2 separate regions of the Homo sapiens genome follow, and region 1 is linked to region 2. The links are contacts of gene promoters, found by promoter capture Hi-C in blood cells and fetal thymus (Javierre and others, 2016). All regions are on one chromosome and are shown on one strand. The core of a region is centred on a gene start or on the middle of the fragment in contact, and the rest is flanking DNA. Distances in the headings are between cores, read along the strand shown.

Region 1 (3,142 bases), core at 221-2,720, 750 kb after region 2:
TCCCAGATGTGGCTTGTTCATTCTGTAGGGATTTTACATCTGCCTGTTGGTGTCAACAGACAAGCTCGTCACACTTCATACCTACTGATCTTTTTGCTTAAGTGGTCTTGCCAGACCCACTGGAAGCAGCCAAGGCATGACTGTAATCCAAGACTCTGAAAAGAGCCAAGCCATTAGACCAGTCCCTAGGAGCTGACTGCAGCATGACATTCATCTGTTCACCATTGAACACCAACGGTGGAAGAATGATCCATCTCTTTGTAAAGATTCTGACGGGCAGCACTGTTGCGGGGATGGAGTAAAGGCGTCACTTAGAAAACCCAGGACTGACTTCTATCCTTCTTGTTAAGAAGTCAGTGAACATCAAATATGGCCCATCTGTATAGCAGGCTCTTGTTCTTCTCGGCTTTGTGAACCCAACAGTGAGTTCTGAGCTGCCTTCCATGGAAAGAAACATTGGAGGTCTGCTCTTTCAGATCAATTGTATGAGTTCTGTAAAATTCTCAGAAGCAGACCTTGGTGGTGATTCCAAGTGGCATGGGAAGGAGCTTTATCCTGCCGGGCTCAGGTACAGAATATGCTGGAGTAAACAAATGCTGTCAACCAAGAAGGATGGGCTGGGCACCAACAGAAGGCATGGGCAGTACAAGCTCTGCTGAATGTTATGGTCTTGAAACCTTCTTGCGCCATTCTGCAGGATCTTGCAAACTACATAGTAGGGAATGAACTGTTCCTGCTGACATCCTTCAAGACGATGGAAACCAAAGTCCTAGGTAGATAGTTCTAGGGCTGAGGTGTCCAACTTACAAGAAAATGTCATTCATGGCATCCATGTGGAGTTAATTCGCAGAAAGTTAAATGTGCAAAACAACAATAACTTTAGGGAAAGAGATTTGTTTTCAGCAAGAAACTGGAAAATACACATTTCTACTGGTTGATCTCTTCTTAACCCTTTGGAATCTTAGAAGTATGAAGAAATTCTAAGCAAAAAAGTCCTTAAAATTTCCTAATGAAACAATGATGCTTAAAGATAAGATTTTTTAGAATGTGAAAGTCTAAGATTTACTTCATTACACTGGGAAGGAGGTAGAGTACATGGCAGAGAAACAGTAGACTGTCAACACAGAACTTAACTCATGTTTTTTTTTTTCTACATCAGACTCTTCCAAATTCACCACTAATCAAAATGGTCCCATTTTCAGAAGTTTAGTTATTTGATCTGGAAACTGGTGTCAGTTGAAATCTGTTCGTCAACTAAAATCCTAAAGGGACGATTGCTGTCTTTAGCACAAAAATAACACCTAAATGCAGTAAACAGAACCATGGAAATCTGACCCAAGCCCACAAAAGTCAGAAAGGTAAGTCTAAAAATATAAAGTGATACTTTACCCTTTGTCGTGCAAAATACTTCAGGCATGCATGCACTTTCAAGATTCCAAAGAATGCTTAGGTAAAAAATTGACCTGGGTCTTGAACAACAGCGTAGAATTTACTTTCATTCTATGTTAACAGAGATCTTTAAAAGTATATAAATGCTTGTGGGCATATGTATACATCTAAATATTTTGCTATGTATCTTTAATTTTAGTCTAATGTAAATTAGAAGTGACTTTGAAAAATACATAACTAAAAAGATTAATTCTAGCTATTTCTAATTTCATCCTCTGTTAATCTCCAAAACACATTTAGATGAACACATTCAGAAAGAGGACGGTTCAGCTGGTCTATTTTTGACACAAGCAGAGTAAACTATGTCATTGTGTCACCCACTATGAAATCTCAGCCTCAATGACGTGGGTGCTTAATCATCTGTCCTTTACTCATAACAGGCCAAACTGGGAGGTAGGAAGTCTTTCTGTTGACTAATCAAAATGCCTACCTCCCCCAGCCCACGGCAACCAGGGGAAGGGAGGTGGCAGGAACAGGCACAGCATAGAGCTTCAAAAGCTCTGAATACCAAAGTCAGATGCTGAATTGAAAACTGCCTCCAAGACACAGGCACAGAGAGATAAAGAGAAAAAGCAAAAATAAAAAGATGCAACGAAATGAATACCGTGGAGTGAATGACCGTACCTTGGCAACGGCTTTGCCATCGGAATTGTTGTTGGAATCCTTAACACCACTGAATGAATCTCTTCTTTGTGGGCATGGTTTCTTTTTGCGTGGTCTGCCTTTAAGATTTGGCGCTGAAAACAAATGGAAAACAATTGATATACATTTTCACTTGCATGGGTTTCTTTATTAAAGACCCAGAATCTCACTACAGTGATCCCTTCTAATTGTTCAGAGAAATGTACAGATCTGTGGCAGGCAGCCCTCATTATTACATGCTTCTCTCTCTGAAGGCTTGCATATTGGTAGAGTATACATTTCTGTACACGTTTCCCAAAGCTAATCTATTTAGCTTTAACATGTCTAATTAATAGAAGTAACACGAAGCTCTTAGCTCTAAAGGATCATGATAAGAAAAATGTCCTTCCACGTTGTTAGACAAGAAGCATTTGGTGCTGAAAAACTGAGCCAGGCTTTGAGCTCAATCTTTGGTTTTTGTTTTGTATCTTGCTTTCCGAAACCTAAGTGACATGCCTGCCCTTATGGTATCATAGTAATGAAATGTTTGAAAACATCTCTTTTACAAAATATTCAGAGACAAGGGCATTCTCTCAAATTACCATACAGATAAGTAGAGAGATAGCTATAGAGAGAGGGGCATTCACAACAGCAAGCTGGAAAACATTATTACATATATTTACTAACAATACTGCAACCAGCAAGTTTCAAATCTCAACAAATCTGACAGATACATTTAAATCAGCATGCTGTCTTTTCCTTTTCAATATATTTTTATGAAGATCTTAAGGCTTATTTAATATAACATCCAAAGATTACACTGGGGTTAGCCTGATTCCATGGGGGTTACACTTTTGAAAAGACAAGATACAAATCAAAGTTCTATTTCATCCTTGATGCTGAGCTTGTTCCTTTTAAGATCTACACAGAAAGTAGGGGGAAAAGGCTGCTGTTTATTGAGAGCTATGACTATCCGGCATCAGCTTTCACATTTAACTTCATCAGTCACCCAAGTCAAGCAAAATTAAAAACAACCAACTAACCAACCACCCCTAGAATGACTCCAAGCTAA
Region 2 (3,509 bases), core at 977-3,476:
AGCAACACAGCTGGAATCACCCGAGTCGGGAACATTAAAGTTCCTGAGAGAATATGAAACAACTATCAACATAATATTTCTCCCTACTTTTACAGTAAAATATTGGAAGTAAATAAATATAGGGAATGCAACAACTGGCTAGGAGTGTTTTACATTCAGTTGTTTGGAAGCATAACACATTCAGCTCCTTTGAATCTTCCCGTTAGAAAATACAGAATTACTCTATCACCTTTTAAGGTACAGTAAGACAAGAAAAAAAGTCATGTGAGGATAATACAGTCTTTGCATTAAAGGTGAATCTGCAACATGAAATCTGCTCGACTCACAGATCTGGAGATTCATAGGGAAGATAAGCTCTAAGTGACCATGTCACAGAGATATGCAGGTGCTGAATTTCTTAGTAGATGCTGCCTGAGTAAACCAGATGTGGCTACTGGGCAAAGGGAGGAAAGAAAATAAATCTTGTCCTCTACATGCATAGTTATGTTGTGAGAATGATCCCCAAACTGAAAAAATCATTTAGTTTTCACAAGGAATTAATTAGGCAGGCCAGCTCACTTTAAACAGTAGCTCATCTCCTTAAACCTAGTTTTTACCAATGACTTGAACTAAAAACAATTCAAACCACTGGGTCATGCACAGTCAATAAGTTAAAAAACTATAAGAAAAAAAGGCATAAGGGCATGAGTGGAAAATAAACCCTATTTAACTAAGGGGTAGGGAGTGGGAGCAAGAAAACCACTTAGTATTTTGTATAGAATGGGGAAGAGAGGAAGATATTTTCATTATGGCTTTAGGATGGAAGCGCTTCAGATAGTCCCCTGCCCCATTCCTCCAAATCAAAGCCCCAGTGGCAGTGACAGTACCAGGAAACAATCTAGCCTCCCCGCCCACCCCGCCCCCATAACCGTGCCCGGCGGCTGCTGTCCAGTCGCCCGTGCTTCCCAAGGCTGCCGAGGAAGCGGCTGCTGCTCATTCCAGTAGATCCAACGCCCAGGCTAGGGGGTAGAGACACAGCCCTTGTGGTAGGGTAGGGCACGTCTTCGGCCCACCGCTCCTGGGCGCCAGTGGCTTCAAGGGAAGACCTTGGGACCTGGATAGGGTTCTCCCTCGCACCAGAAGTCATCGGCCTGTGGGGTCTCCAGGAGCCACACCTCTCGAGGCAGGTCACAGGCCGAGCTGGAGGCCTCCTTGGGCCTGACCGGCTCCAGCACCCGGTAATAGTGGCAGTCCCGGCCATCGTCCGGGTCGTAGGGCGGGGCCAGGATGTCCAGGAAGGCGGCAGGCCCTTCCACGGCGTCGATCTGGTGCAGGTTGTCCCGGTGCGGTGTGAGGATGCAGGGGCCGCTGGCCTCGGTGTACTCGGCCCGCGAACGCAGCACGCCCGGCCGCACGGCTTCTCGCTCCCGGGGCTGCAGCGGCGGCTCGAACTGCTGCTCGGGCGGCAAGGCCCGCGGCCGTTGCCCGCCGCCCGCGTCTAGCTTGTCCATGCAGCTGATGCGCACGGTGCCGTACAGCACCTTGAGCATGCCGTGCATGCCCGGGTGGTCGTGCAGCGGGATGGACGTGCCGCTCTTGAGCAGGAACACGCCCAGGCTGAAGCCGTCCGTCTCGTAGATGTGCATGTAGGTGACTGGCGGCAGGTTGGGCGGCAGCGGCTGCAGTGTGGCCTTGCGCGGGGCGATGTTCAAGTCCTCGGCGCGGAGCTGGGTCAGGAGGCTCTTCAGCTTGCTCAGGTTCTCGGGGAAGCCCGGCTGCATCGGCGCCTCCGGGCCAGAAGCCGCGTCGCGATCGGAAGCGCCGCGGCCGCCCCCGCTGCCCCGGAAGGTGAGGCAAGCCTGGCGGGCGATCCGTTGGATCAAGGAGGCCATGTTGTCTCGGGGCATGGTCGGCTGCTCCTCTGCGTGCCGGGACCGGCCCCCTCCTTTCCTCCGCCCCTTGCGGTCCCCGGCGGCCGCCACGGCTGCCCCCAGCCCGGGTCGAGGCGGGAGGCCCCGCAACCACCGGCCCGTCGGGCGCGCGGCACCGCCGCCAACCTCAGCAGCCACGCGCCCGCAACTGCCCGGCGCGCTCGCCTTGAGCCCCCTCTGAGCGCGCACGCGCACGCCCCACACCCCGCACTCACGCTCCGGGAGCAGATAGCGGCCGCGCAGACGGTGCCAGGCTTTGCCTTACGCCCGGCGCTCCATTCATGCGGCCCGCACCTACGACGGTGGCCGGGCGCCCGGGGACCCTGCGGAGCATGCCGGGACTTGTAGTCCGGCCTTCCGCTTGAGCTCTGAGATAGTTCAGTTTGTTGATTGGAAAATAGAGGAACTATTACACATGTTGGGCATAAAGCGATCTTTTTCAGGATGCAGAGGTGTTTTTCTTGTTTTAGAAAAGATGAATCGGGGTGGAAGATTAGTAGCCACTTGACTACAACTCCCGGCACTCCCCGCAGGGTGGAGTGACGCACTTCCGTCAGCTGGCCCCCGGAGTAGTGGAGGCTCTTGGCCTTCATAAGGAAAGGGGCAGGGAGGGTCGTTAACCTTCTGGCGCCGCGCTGGGGCCTGGTTAGCCATGCAGGGTCGCCTTCCTTTGGCCTTGCCCCTGGGAAGGAGGCTGTTGAGTCAGCCTTAGCTCCTCGTAGCGGCCTAGGCAGCACTGTCTCCCACGGGAATTGCAGGAGGGCGCTTTTATAATTTTGTGTTTCCTAGGAGGGGAGGGGGTCCAGGCCGTCCTCTGTGATCATCAAGGTTACTCGGCCCAGCTGGGCCCAGCTGGGCCCAGCTGTTGTTTGCATCAGGACCTGATGACGCTGCTCTTCTGGTTACAGAGCAGTATAGCTTTTTGCTGGAGAGACTTGAGAGGCCATTTACAGTGGTCGTGGATTCTGAACATACTAGTGGTTATCAAATCTTGGTTTGCCTGAGAAGGGGGAGCGGGCTTTTATAAATGCAGATTCCCTGTCGTCACCCAGAGATGGAGTTACTAGATGGTTCTGAGGCATCCTAGGAGAAATAGTGGTGTGCAACAGTCAGTTCAGTCAGTAATTGTGAAATTGTTTCACTACACAGAGGCATCCTTCTCCTTGGCGTGAACTAACTTTTGGCATAAGTAAATGACTAGAAAAGCAAGACATTAGATACTATGACTTTAAACTTAACCCTGAGTTTAAAGTCTTTTTGGATTCCAAAGCTGAACATGGGTTTCTTGTACATTTTGTAATTGGAGTGGTTCAGTGAATCCTCTCCAGTTAAAATAGGCATACTTTTTAAAGTGGATTACATAACCTGGCTAATGAGTACTCACAATATGCCAGGCACTGTGTTAAGTGCATTATATAATGAATGTTATACTATTTAATCCTTGCAGCAACTCTTAAGAGGCAGGCACTATTATTATTCCCAGATTGCAGATGAGGGAATAAGTTGTAGGATAGTGAATACTAAGTACCCAGCAAAGCATGAGCAGCAGAGCAGAAATAAGTACAGTCTTACCAAAAACAGCAGCTTGAATTGGTGTAA

The links. The method cuts DNA at HindIII sites, captures the fragments that hold promoters and counts their contacts. A CHiCAGO score of 5 or more calls a contact.
Region 1: a fragment that was not itself captured here is called in contact with the fragment with the promoter of ADO in region 2 in 1 of 17 cell types (neutrophils); the score reaches 6.0 in neutrophils.

Annotation. Positions count from the first base shown.
Region 1 is chr10:62,049,932-62,053,073 of GRCh38, reverse strand. It overlaps ARID5B (AT-rich interaction domain 5B), which reads right to left. Exons shown (of 10, transcript NM_032199.3): 5 at 2,074-2,186. Among named protein-coding and RNA genes, the nearest start is that of ARID5B, 150 kb to the right of the region's middle. RefSeq lists an enhancer at 1,392-2,591. The HindIII fragment of the contact is 5,648 bases long and covers 1-3,142 here.
Region 2 is chr10:62,803,437-62,806,945 of GRCh38, reverse strand. ADO (2-aminoethanethiol dioxygenase) reads right to left here and starts at 2,226. Exons shown (of 1, transcript NM_032804.6): 1 at 1-2,226. The coding sequence starts at 1,886. The coding sequence ends at 1,074. RefSeq lists enhancers at 1,622-1,741, 2,212-2,471 and a silencer at 1,922-2,171. The HindIII fragment of the contact is 5,397 bases long and covers 1-3,509 here.